2 separate regions of the Homo sapiens genome follow, and region 2 is linked to region 1. Evidence: promoter capture Hi-C in human tissues and cell types (Jung and others, 2019). All regions are on one chromosome and are shown on one strand. Each heading gives the region's core, a stretch centred on a gene start or on the middle of the fragment in contact. The rest is flanking DNA. Distances are from core to core; before and after follow the strand shown.

The links. Contacts are between HindIII fragments. The study calls those that stand out against the background at their distance.
Region 2: a fragment that was not itself captured here is called in contact with the fragment with the promoter of TMEFF2 in region 1 in 1 of the 25 tissues and cell types used here (mesenchymal stem cells).

The regions. Positions count from the first base shown.
Region 1 is chr2:192,191,398-192,198,074 of GRCh38, reverse strand. TMEFF2 (transmembrane protein with EGF like and two follistatin like domains 2) reads left to right here and starts at 3,142. Exons shown (of 10, transcript NM_016192.4): 1 at 3,142-3,722; 2 at 6,086-6,195. The coding sequence starts at 3,551. RefSeq lists an enhancer at 2,621-3,196. The HindIII fragment of the contact is 5,375 bases long and covers 1-4,239 here.
Region 2 is chr2:191,857,997-191,864,673 of GRCh38, reverse strand. All of the region lies in intron 1 of CAVIN2-AS1 (CAVIN2 and TMEFF2 antisense RNA 1), which reads right to left. Among named protein-coding and RNA genes, the nearest start is that of CAVIN2, 14 kb to the right of the region's middle. The HindIII fragment of the contact is 3,138 bases long and covers 2,518-5,655 here.

The DNA of each region.
Region 1 (6,677 bases), core at 1,893-4,392:
TGTTGGAGAATAACTCCCAAGCCCCCTACTTAAGCTGTGAGTAATCTCACACTTTATAATGATGTTCTTTCCATGAGAAAAAAAAATGTTCTTAAGTTTTCTGGAGAAAATATATCTGCACTATTTCTACTGAAAAATCTAACAACTGGACTCTGCTCCTCTGCATCAATTCTAGAGTGTATATGCCACAAATAAAGTGTTCTAGCTCAAGAAGATTGAAAGTAAATATGGTATAGTATTTTAAAATAAGAATTTTGCAAATACATGGTATGATTGTGTCATATTACTAGCAATCATATGATACGCAATGCAAAGTACAGTTCATAGACTTAAATTTAATTCTAATAAGTAAACTGATTTTGCCTTGCTGGGGAAAAGTTAAAGCACTAATCCAATTGCTAATGCAGTCTTGTCTACTTCTTTGGTACCTAGTGACAAGTCTAAATAATGTATATATTTTTATTTACATATTCAGTAATACAATTCTCTGCTCAATGAGTGATGTTCTTCTGCCACTTGGTGGTGCTTGCCAGTTTCAGAATTTGTTTCTTGGTGGCACTATAACACTAAGTACAGAGTAAGTGCAACAAAATTGCAGCATTCCCATTGAAAAGGCTTTGCTTCAAACTGTTTAATAATTTAAAGGACCTCTGTGGAAGCAACCGCATTTGTTAACCAGTTACAACCAGTAATTAACTCCTTTGGAGTTTTAACTTACTTTTGGCAAAACGTCTTAGGAAGAGCATATATTATTAGAAAGTATGCCAAAAATTTACTTAGCAGAAAATTCAAAAACAGTTTTCCTCTGCTAAGAGGTTCTCTAAAATTCTACTTACATAGCCAAACTCTGAAATCCTAGCAGGTCCTGTTTCATTATCATAATTACTGCATAAACACTTTTAAGGACTTTGCCTTTAGTTTCAAGCATGACTTATTTTCATAAGCCTGATTAGTTACCACACCAGCCTTGCTATGGAAAATGACATGTTCTCATTCTCTGCTGTAGAGTTGTTAAATCTTGATCTATATTTATGTTGCCTTCTCTGCTGAAAGCCTGTAGCGAAAGAAATTTCTAATTCCTTGTTTTGCAATATTAGTTGGCAGCTCTATCTAATGGGTATTCTGTTTCCTTAAAGAATTTAGCTGCTCTGTCTAGAAGCCGATTTTCTGATGCCTCCAACGTCTGGTCTAATTGATCTGTTTTAATGGAGTCTTCGTCGGTGAGGAGCGAGATGCCACCGACTAGAATGCTGGGATCTGCTGCTTAATTGCCAGGAGTGAGAGACACTGAGATTCAGAAATCTTTGGAGGTGGGAGGGGAGAGGGACAGTCTCGGACGGAGGCGGAGATGTAAGATAAAGGGATGGATTTCACACAGGAAAAAAAAAAAGATTTCGTTGAGGCACTGAGGTGCTGCACGATCACATCTCTCAAAGGAGAAGTTAAAAAGCAAGGAAGTGGGAGGAGGTTGGAGGTTAAAGTACTTAAAAGGATTACTCGGGTACAATTTGTTTTTCTGCTGGTGTCTGCAAAGGATAGATAGTCCCGTTTTCAAAGTATATGAATGCCTCTTTTAAGTGATTGGGAATGGACACTAATTGCCTGTTAAATGTTATCAAATGCTCTCCTAAATTCAGGGGACACAGAAAGAGGGGCACAAAAGGAGAATTTAAATAGAAAAAGGGAGGATCCGGAGGCTTTTGAAAGCGGGGGGAGAAGAAGGAGGAGGGATAACAGAGAGGAATAGAGAAGGAGAGCGGAGAGAAGATAAACAAAAACAAAAACAGGAATCACTGAATAATCACACACCAAAAAGAAAGCTCTTCCCTATGGGGCATCCAAAACACTGAGACTGCAATAGTGACCCCGGTCATGGAAGAAAGATGTTCCTCTCCACCCTTGTCCCCGAAAGCTCTTGGTCCCGTTACTGGCGACTAAAATTCCATTAGGCTAAAGAGTGTGTCTAACTGCCTGAAGAATGCAGCAGACGGAAGGCGGGTCCCGCTATGCCGTTTGCCCTTCCCGCTGGAGAGAATGAAAGAAACGCGCAGAGCCAGAGACTCCTGCCGAGTTAGACCTTCTCTCGTCGCCCCAGGTCACCGGCCATCCGGCAAAGACCCGAGTAAGGAACGCAGGGTCACTGCCTGGGCCAACAAATGGAGCCCGCTCTCCCCTTCCCGGACGCCGCTGCCCGGCCGATGCTCCCGGCAACCCACCCGCGGCGTATGCAGAGGAGCCTTTCTCTTTCTCTCAGACCACTTGTCCCGACCAATCTGACCTTCCAAACACATCTGACCGCACCTCCCAGGTGGACACACTAATAGGCTACGGGCTGGAGAGGAGCGGGTGATGAGGAGAGGGATTCAAACCTGCGAACGCTTGGGCTGGGTCGGAGCTGCGGGGGGCCTGGGAGGAGAGAGGGGAGAAGAGAGAAGGAAGGAGAGCGCCTGCCGGGATGGCTGAGCTGCCTCGGCGAGCAGCCTTGGGGTTGCACGCTCTTGTGGGAGATGCTGCTGTTGCTTCCAGGTCGGCAAGAGCGGTTCTAACACCATCGCCTCTCACCCTCTTTCCTGTAAATCCCTAGAGAAACGTCCCTGGCCTCTCCGCCGCGACATTCCCAGCCTGCATCCCCCTACAGCCTAGGCGGCGCGCTCCCGCACGCTGGAGCGCCGGTCGCCAGCAGGACGCCCTCTCCCGCGCCGACTCGCCCCTCTCTGCCCTGCTGCTGCTGCTCCTCTGACACCTCCGCCCCCACCATCTCCAGCTCGGAGAGACGCCACCCAGCCGCGGCCCGCACTCGCGGCCCGGGGTCACGCGCGGAAGAGGGGCGCTAGTCCGGACCCCGCCTTCGGTAGGGGGCGTCCTGGAGCGGAGAGTGAGGCGAATGGTATATGAGTGTGCGGGTAGCCCACCCTGAAGCCCGAGCTTCTCATTTGAGCCATCCCCGCCTAGCCCCACTCGGGCCAGCGCCTGGCGAGCGAGCCCATCTGTGGCTTCCGCGGCCGCCTCCTCCTTGCATCCTTGCACCTCCTCGTCGACCCCTCCCTCCCGGGACCTGCATCCTGCTCCACCAATCAGAGCCCGACTGCCTCTTCCCACGTGACCCCGGGCGGGCTGAGGACCTGCTGCTTCCCAAACGCCAGAGGGATGCGGGCGGCAGAGCTCGAGAGGCGGCTGCCGGGCTGCGGGGCGCCTTGACTCTCCCTCCACCCTGCCTCCTCGGGCTCCACTCGTCTGCCCCTGGACTCCCGTCTCCTCCTGTCCTCCGGCTTCCCAGAGCTCCCTCCTTATGGCAGCAGCTTCCCGCGTCTCCGGCGCAGCTTCTCAGCGGACGACCCTCTCGCTCCGGGGCTGAGCCCAGTCCCTGGATGTTGCTGAAACTCTCGAGATCATGCGCGGGTTTGGCTGCTGCTTCCCCGCCGGGTGCCACTGCCACCGCCGCCGCCTCTGCTGCCGCCGTCCGCGGGATGCTCAGTAGCCCGCTGCCCGGCCCCCGCGATCCTGTGTTCCTCGGAAGCCGTTTGCTGCTGCAGAGTTGCACGAACTAGTCATGGTGCTGTGGGAGTCCCCGCGGCAGTGCAGCAGCTGGACACTTTGCGAGGGCTTTTGCTGGCTGCTGCTGCTGCCCGTCATGCTACTCATCGTAGCCCGCCCGGTGAAGCTCGCTGCTTTCCCTACCTCCTTAAGTGACTGCCAAACGCCCACCGGCTGGAATTGCTCTGGTAAGTCCAGAACCCCCGTCCCCGACCCTTTAACTCCGCAGAAGAACACGCGTATCCAGCACAGACCAGCCTACCCTAGCGCGCCTCCTCAGCCCCTCACCTCCTACTGCCCTAGACCCCTAATACCACCCACCTCTATCCAGAGAAACAAGGGGAACTGTTGCAGGCCCGGGGGTGAGGGGTGGTTCTGGGATGGGCAGAAAGTGCAGGTGTAGCAGGAAACCTTTGCATGCTTGCGCTTACATTGGAGCTGCGAGGATTTTGAGAAATATTAAACGGGATGGTTTTCTGGGTTCACTGTTTTGAAAGAGCACCAATCCTAGGGGAAACACTGAAACAGAAGCTTTGTCATCATTAAAGAAAAAAGTCTTACTAGGATGAGGAAGAAATAACTTTATGAGAAAGAATGAGCGAGAAAGCAATAAATCAAATGGTGACTGCAGGGGAATCGCTGATTCCTGGCAAAGGTGCCATGAGGTCGCACTGGTCTCCCGTTGAAGACCAGGTCACACAGATTCTAGAGGAGCTGGGTTTCAATAGAATTTCTCTCTCTCTCTCTCTCTCTCTCTCTCTCTCTCTCTCTCTCTCTCTATCTATCTATCTCTCTCTCTCTCTCATTCCCTTCTCTCCTAGGCGGCAAAAGACATTGGTTTTGCAGTCCAGATATGCCCCTCTCTTTGCTTCCCTAAGCTTCAAGGTAGTACAGGGGAGTTGAGAAAAAGAACACTTTGCGGGTCTCCCAGGCCGGAGTGGGCATGACTGAGGCTGGTCAGGCTCCATGTAGGCGAGCCGAGGGCGGAACCGACTTCAGTGGGCGCTGACTCCTCCATTTCTGGACAGGCTTCTGTGGAGTGGGTCAGGCACTCTTCTTGCTCGCTCGGGTTCCTTCAGATTCTGACGGCGAACGCTTGGCAGGCTTCGCTCTGCTGAAGCTTCCTAATTAAATAGGGCCAGAGGATGGGAGTTGCTGCACTCCTAGCTGGCATAGCATTTCGGTTTGACAGCCTGTAGTATACTGGGCAGAATTGTGGTGTAATTTCCTTGGCATTTTAAACTCCGTTAACATGCCTGGGTATTGTCCCCTAGGTGTGGTCTGTTCTAGTTTTAGCAAGTGTGTATGTAATTTTTCATCTTCTGTGAATATAATTTTGCTGTAGTTAAATCTGGCTCTGAATAAAGTGTCTTTCAAAGATGTATATAAGCTGAAGTGTATGTAACTTTAGAGAGGAGGGAATGACCAACTGTAACTCAGGGTGAAAGCCTGTATAGTTCCTAGTTATTACTGATGTAAATGCCAAAAGGAAAATTATTATGCATCATTCTAATTTATCCTTTACAAAGACAAGTTGAGATATGCAACCCTATTAGATTTGGGTCAATAGATTGTTCTCTTTTTTGGCAGTTTCTAAATTTGGCATTTTAATAAAACTCAACATGTTTCTATAACTTCTTGATTCATGCGTACATGTGTGTTGTTTTTGAAAGAATAAGTTTCACTTTGCTATTGCCTAATCACTTTTTAGATGCTTTATTATGGTAATAATTATGAGCCTGCAAAAACAATTTTTGGAAATGTTGATGGCTTTGTAGTCCAACACAGACTGGTTTGCTTCATTCCTAGCCCTTGCATTGTTTTAGGAAATAACTAACTTAAATGTGAAGTTGACATTTGCAATCAAGAAATTACATATTTACCAGATATTTTAAAGGGGACTGCATAAACTAAAGAGAATAAACTGGTTTTGCAGATAGGTTGTCAAGAACTTGGCACCCCGCTTCCACCCCTGTTAACTTAGAGGTGATCAATCTTCATTTGAGCCAAACAGACCATCACAGAAAACACTGTGCCTGTTTATCTTTATTATTGAGGCTTTGTTTCCTCTTTGTCTGGATACATTTCAAATAAGGGGTTGTTTCAGTCGTTGAAGCAAAAGAACAATTAAAGATGGGGAAATGGTAAAAGGGTATTCAGAGATCATCACTAGCTCTTTTCCAAAATGTGGAGTTTTGTGGTCATAAATATTGTCCACCTAATGAGCAAAAAATAAAAATAAAAAAAAAACAGGAAGCAAATGTTAAGCTTTCATTCACCACTGTCAGTATTAACGCAAGCTTTAAAAAATAGCACTATCAGAAAAGGATACTAAAGGAGAATTGACTAGAAAAGAATTGTGGAAAATGGAAACGAATATTGATCACTTAACTAGATTTTGAGGTTATCAGTAGACAGTGACCTTGCAGTACAGCTATAGTTGTTGGATTTAAAATTTAGGACAAGTATTTTAAAGCTTCAAAGTAGTGCTTTTTTTTGTTAAAAATCTGTAAGATGTTTTAATGACTGGAGTGTTCTCTTTGAATTTGAGGTTATGATGACAGAGAAAATGATCTCTTCCTCTGTGACACCAACACCTGTAAATTTGATGGGGAATGTTTAAGAATTGGAGACACTGTGACTTGCGTCTGTCAGTTCAAGGTAAGAAGTCTTATATTTGCATCTTCTAATTCATTAATGAGACTGCAAAGCAGGAATCTTCCTTTACAGCCTATCACTTGGAAATTTATAGCTATGCAAGCTAAGAGGGAAGCTGGCACCAAGCAAAAGTACTAGCAAGAGAGCCAACTGATGTCAAGAAGACATACGCTTTTTGGAGAAATGTATATGCCAAAGTTATAAATGCTGCTGGAGGTAGAAAGCTTCAGGTTGTGCTTTTGGGATGTCAAAGGAAAATTATGTTTCTCTGACCCTTCTAGCATCACTTTAAAAGTGAATTGACTGGGGATAATAGTCAAAATAGGGGGTAAGAAGTGTGGACTTATTCTTTTGTTCTTTTTGATTGGGGCTATCATCTTTTTATCTTATTGCTATCTGTTTTAATGGTCTTGGCCTTTATTATCCTTGCAACCTGACTAGGTTTTTAAGGTAACTCCTTATTAGTGTAACCTCAACACTTTGTT
Region 2 (6,677 bases), core at 2,837-5,336, 330 kb after region 1:
TTATGAGGCATCTAAAAGATTACTGGTTCTCAAGCGAGGGGATACCTTACATTTTCCCCCACTCACAACTCACGTTTCCTCTGTTCCTAAAATATGCACACACAAAGGACATGGATCAGCATGGGGTGTGTGTGTGTGTGTGTGTGTGTGTGTGTTTGATAATAGTTTTCTTTTAATTCAAGCGTAATTATTTACTTTCCAATTCTCCTAAGCAATGACAATCAATTCTCTATGTTTTGTCTAAAGTCTACTCCTGAACTTTTCATACTTACCACTGAAAATAATGACACAGTGGTTAGTACTTGTAGAAATGTGACAGTGAACTTTTTTAAGCTGTTTTTGAACTCCGTCTTGTCAAAAGAAAAATAAATGAAAGCCCTGCATGGTGACTCTAGCTAACACTGACTACATCTTGCTTATGCAAACCTGCACTGGGACTGTAGCATTTCTCCACCAGTAGCACAACCCTGCTAGAGATGAAAGGCGTGTCATACTGGTATTCTGTAGAAGCATGGAAGTTATCTCACACTCATATTTCAAGAGAAGCCTGCCAAAACCAATCCTGTTTGAAAAGCTAGCCTGCAACATAATGTTCACTTTCTTGGGAGGAACTCTACTTCCTATGCAACACAAACTGCTGCATCCCAAAAGCAAAACACTGAAATATTTGTAGTGTAGAAATCCACCTGTATTTTTATATATGTATGTTACATGGAAAATAAGTACCATAAGGGCAGGAAATTTTTGGTGGGGGAAGGGTCTGTCTTGTTAACTGATTTATCCCAAGCACCCAGAACAGTGCCTAGCTCACATTTGTTGAATGAATGATATGGCTGAGAATCACTGTCCCAAATCCAGTTCTGAGAAAATACTGCTGCTGGACCCACTATTCTGCTTAGAAACATTAAGAAGTAAACAATCCTTTGCTAGCAAATATCAGCATACAGACTAACATGGTGATGGACGTTAAATGAGGAGCCTCCGTAGAAGATAATATTTGGATCCATGTACATATAAAAAGTTGCGTTGATGTTTTACTGACCAAGAGATCGTTTTTCATATCTTTTGATTTTATCCGAACAAGTTTATGAAGAAAAGACTGGTAGTCCTCACAATCAGGTGTTTTCATCTTCGTGTCTACTAGGAATTTAAACTTTTATAACTTTTATAACTCTCTTAACTCAAGCAATTGCAAGGTATTAAAACAATAGGACAGATGAGTTGAGCCCTGATGCCAATAGACATCTCTAGTAAGATTGAAAAACTGGAATGTGGAGGACTCAGTGCCAATAGAGATGTGAGACTGAAACTGCAGGGTAAAGGTATGGTTGCCAGAAACCAGCAGAGCAGAGGGCCTGCAGTCAGGAGGCCAGGCAAAGGGGCAGAGCTCAGAGGAATAGCCCACCAGCCTCTCCACTGCCCACCTTGAAGGATGAAAAAGAGAATGGACAGGCTCCTTGACAAATGTGCTTGGCTGTCCCCTTAGTTCTAATAATTGTTCTGTTTTATTATATGTTCATGCCTGTTTAACAATTAGCAGATCTGGTAGATGGATGAACCAGGAGTGTCGGCATGAAGATCCTGCAGGCAAACATTAGCACTGGTTTTCTAGCCACAAAACATTATTTCTGATAGGTATATTAATAACAATAATAACAACAACCATAAAGTATTCATAACCATCTTATTGATAAGTGACATTTTTTCCTCTAGAAACTTCAAAAACCTCATGTTATTATTTGTACATAAGTAAGAATTACAGGTTAAACAATTTACCCATGCTTATTGTTGTCAGTAGCAGAGTCAGAAAGCCCCATGCTGGTCTACACCATACACATGTATAGATTCTATTAGATTGCTACATGGTTTGTTTTGATGGTTTCACAAAAATTCTATAGTGGTGCCATATTTGAAAATGAAAGAAATTAGAAAAATGTTTATTACAGGGTTGTATTTTTTCCCTTCAGACTCAGACCAAAGATTTAAAGCCTGAGTCAAATATTATTTATTCTCCACTGTACTAATTTCAAGGACTAGCATCTTTGGGTCTAACACCAGTCATATTTGGATTGCCAAGCCCTGATGAGCAAGCCAAAATATATGTGGTGGGTCATAGGGAAAAAAATGTTTAGGTACATTGGAATCAACATTAACTGTACTTTAAAAGTGTTAAAAACCAGCTCTGAGACACAGGTTTTCCCAGAGCCAAGATAACATGAAAAAATTTTCATGTACTTGGAGCCACGAGAGAAACGAAGAGCCAAGTTCTGTCATCTGGTGCATATTTCCAAGGGGCCGACTAGAGCCCCTGGGACTGACTCCTCAGACCTTTCCCAGGAAAGTCTTCTAATGTCCCTAACAGAATTCACAAATGGGACCTTGGGAATCACTCGCAATGAGATAACATAGAAACATCTTTGTTTCCAAGTCATCATTTCCTCCAAATGAAGATGGAAGCTAAGCTTTCCAATTGGAAATTTCCACAAATGATGAGAATGTGTATTTAATGATTATGGCTTTATATTTCATTGACCTTATCCCCATTCAATGTATATAAAAATAAAAAAGAAGCTTAAATTCAACCAAATTAACTCTGCTTTTTAGACCTCTTTCATTTTTTAGTAGCTATAGAGTAAATATTATAGGTGAAGATTATGATACTATTCCAACATCCTCTTCAGGGATGTGAACACCGGGAAAGGGGTACAAAAAGCTGTCTCTGTGGAGCCATGGAAAGAGTGTAGACCAGGAGGCAGGAGGGGTGACTCTGGCCCAACCTCCCAGCTCACTGGTTGTATGATGTAAGGCAAGTCATATAATAGTTTTTTGCCTGTTTTATCATCTGTAAAATGAAAGGGCTGAATAATAATGATGGTGACAATAATAATAAAGGTAGCAATAATAATAGACAGGTGGGAGAGCTTGGTAGTGATCATTTAATCCTTTCAACATCCCTGTGATTTAAAATAATTGTCTCCATTGTATCATTGAGAAAACAGGCTCAGATATAGTAATTTCCTTAGCTCAATGGCAAACAGAGGTGAACTTACTGAGAAATTAATAAAGTTTAAGCTTCTGAGGCCCTTATTTGCATAAGCCCCCTTCCAAGACTCTGTACCTAACTTTATATTCTCTATCTTAAAGAGGGTTTCTAAAATTGTCTAAGTCCTAGGCCCCATAAGAATTGGATTTGCCCCTAATGCAAGCAAGAGATGAAGCTGGAATTCAAATGCAAGTGATCCAATGCGAAAGCCTGAAATCCTACTCCCCCTACTGAACCTGCTCCCTTTCAAAGATTCCTTTGTTCCTCATAGCTCTCTAAGCTATCTATTGTGGACTGAACTATGTCCTCTCTAACTTCACATGTTGAAGCCTTAACCCCCAAGGTGACTGTATTTGGAGATTGGGCCTACAAGGATAATAAGGCTGAACAAGGTCCTAATCATTTAACCTTAAGTGGAGTCCTATTCTAAGAGGATTGATGTCCTTATGAGAAAAGGAAGAAAGAGCATAGCTTTCTCCCTGTGTGTGCACCAAGGAAAGGCTGCAAGAGGACAGAGTGAGAAGGAGGCCATCTAAAAGTCAGGAAGAGACCTTCCCTGGAAACAGGATTTGCTGGCACCTTGATCATGGACTTCTAGCCTCCAGAACTGTGAGAAAATAAATATCTGTTTTTAAGCCACCCAGCATGTAGTATTTTGTTATGGCAGCTAGAGTAGCCTAATACACTATCCTATGCCTGCCCCATCCCTGTAGTTTCCTATATCTCAAATAATAGGAGTGCCTACATTTCCTTTACAGGGTCATTCCACAAAGTAGTATCTTAGCTACAGTCAGGAAAACATTTTTCTGAACCTAATTTTGTATTATTTCTCCTAGAAATTAAAATGCCTTCCTTCTCTCTGGTTTTGAGGAAACAGTGGAATATTAAATTTCCAATGACAGACAGCAGAAGTCCAAGTTCTAATATCAATTAATCCTGATTTGCTAATGATAAACCGGGCTTTCATGTGCAAGCCATTCTAGTATCCTCAGGTTTAACAACTTCATCTGCATAAGACCTTTGGTTAGAAATATTAATCAAGACTATACTACAGAAACTTTGCTAATATAATACAAAAAATACTACTTGATTCCTCTTTACACGGTGTAATAGTCACAAGTCCCTCAGTAAGAAAAGTGAATTAAGTGGACAATCCAATCACAAGATTGTTTTGAACTCAATATAGGATGCTAAACATATATCTGAACACAACCAACAGTTTATTTACATTTCTCACTGATTCCTCCGTTCTTATTTATTTAATTGACATTTACTCATTCATTCACTCATTCATGCACAAATATGTGTTTAAATACCTACTGTCATTTAAATGGGCTACAACAGTGGGTAGGCAGAATTATAAGGTGGCCTCCAGGATCCCCACCGCTGGTCTACCTGCCCTGTATAATCCTCACCCCTCGAGTATGGTGACACCTGTGAATATGATGAGATATCACTCCTCTGATTACGTTACATTAAGTAGCAAAGGTGAAGATATTTTGCAGATGTAATTAAGGTCTCTAATCAGTTGACTCTGAGTTAATGACAAGGAGATTATCCTGGGTGTGTTTGGCCTAATTAGGCAAACCCCTAAAAGAGGGTCTAGAGATAGGAGACTCTCCTGCTGGCCTTGAAGAAATAAACTGCCATGTTGTAAGAATGTCTCATGTCTAGACCCTTGGGTAGTCTCCAGGAACTGAGAGCACTCCCCCTCACCCTGGTTTACAGCCAGCAAGAAAAAAAGGATGTTAGTTCTACAGCCACAAGAAGTTGAAATGTGCCAACATCCTGAATGACCTCAAAAGAGGACTCCAAGTCTTAGATGAGACTGCAGCCTAGCCAATACCTTGATATCTGCCTGGTGAAATTTTGAGCTAACCCTAGTGAAACCCAGCAAATCTAACCCTGGACTCCTGACTCACAGAAACTGTGAGACAATAACTGTGCGTTGTTTTAAACTGCTAAGTTTATGGTAATTTGTTACAAATAATAGAAACATAATACAAACCATGAAAAATATAGACAAAGTCCCTGCCTTCCTGGAGCTTTAGATCTAGTGAGTGACACAGGCAAAGAGCAGCTCACAAACAGTATTATTTCAATTACACAGTGGTATGTGAAGAGTATGCAACAGGGTGCTCAGGGAGAGAAAGACTGAGGATGGCACCCCTATAAGGTAGGATGGTCAGGGAAGACTAGCTGAATAATGAGAGGGAAAAAAGCCAGCCATATGAGAATGAATAGGAAGAACTCCAGGCAGAGAAAACAGCAAGGGAGATGCCCTCAGCGGCACTGGCTATATCATTACAAAATTAACTCCAAGAACCACATGGAGACACTGATACATAAGCTCATTTATTCACTGAATGTTTAATTTAATATAAATGTATAACTGCCTAAAAAATATGTTTCAGTAGAGTGGGTCCCATTGGACATTAATCGGTTTAACTGCCGTTAGCGAAAGTTCTAATTATAGTAGCCTTTTAAATTTGGCTTTTCTTCAACCTTTGCCAGGTGGAAATGTGTCTTATAGGACTCACACTTAGCACATAATGGAAATTCAAAAAGACAGTTATTGAATTGAAATGAATGCTGCAACTTTATTTAAAGTTTCATGTTTGTTTGATTCTTTTAGGGTAGAATGTTGTCTCCTGTTAGGAGGACATAAAGATAAACAGCAATTAAATTGTACTCTATCCAAGACCTCTGATGTATAAGTCAAGATCTGAATGATGAAATATACAGCAGAAAGACTATATGAAGTGAATACATGCAAAATGAGGTAGCATAGGTAATTTTGGCTAGCTGACTAGTATTTATTGAGCTGTATGTAATAGGCACTCTGTGGTGTCATCAAATCCACAAAACATTAACACCACAATAGGTATTATTATTAGCACAGTTTTATTTAATAAGAAAAGTGAGGCTTCAAAAGATTAAGTAATTTTCTCAATATTATACAACTAGAATAATAAGCTGGAACTCGAATCTAGGTAACTGACTCTAAATCCCAGCCTGTGAACCACTAGCTGTAAGATGATTGCAATGACGACTAAAATGCACTGAGTTTTTAACCACACGAAAGGCATTAGACCAAGCACATTACATGTAGAACTAATTTAACCCTCAGACCAACCCCATGAAGTAGGTACTCTTAATGTTTCTCATTTTATAACTCATTTTATAGCTAAATCTCAGAGAGGTTAAGAGACTTGCACAAGGTCACTTAACCCTTGTAAGGCTTAGTCCCTTTATCCTAAAATGGGGCCTCAATACATGGACCTTTTCCCAGACAGTCTGGCACCACAGCCCACACTCAACCAGCACATGACACTGCTGCACTGGTATCAAACCTATGATCCAAAATAAAATAATACTTACTCCAAAACATACATAGCATATATTCTGTTCCTCATTACTCTGGTGTCAAGTTTACATAGCTAAACTATGTAACGTACATTTGGACATTTTAACGTCATCATTAATGTAATTCATTTTAGTTGCCTTTTTTCTTTTCCTCTGGACTGTCTAGTTATCTTCCATTGCTTGGCCAGTGGCCAGGGCTGGAGTAAGATGTTCTCTCCCGTCCCTACCCAAATCTCAAATTTGATTAGTAACTAAAATGTTATGCTCT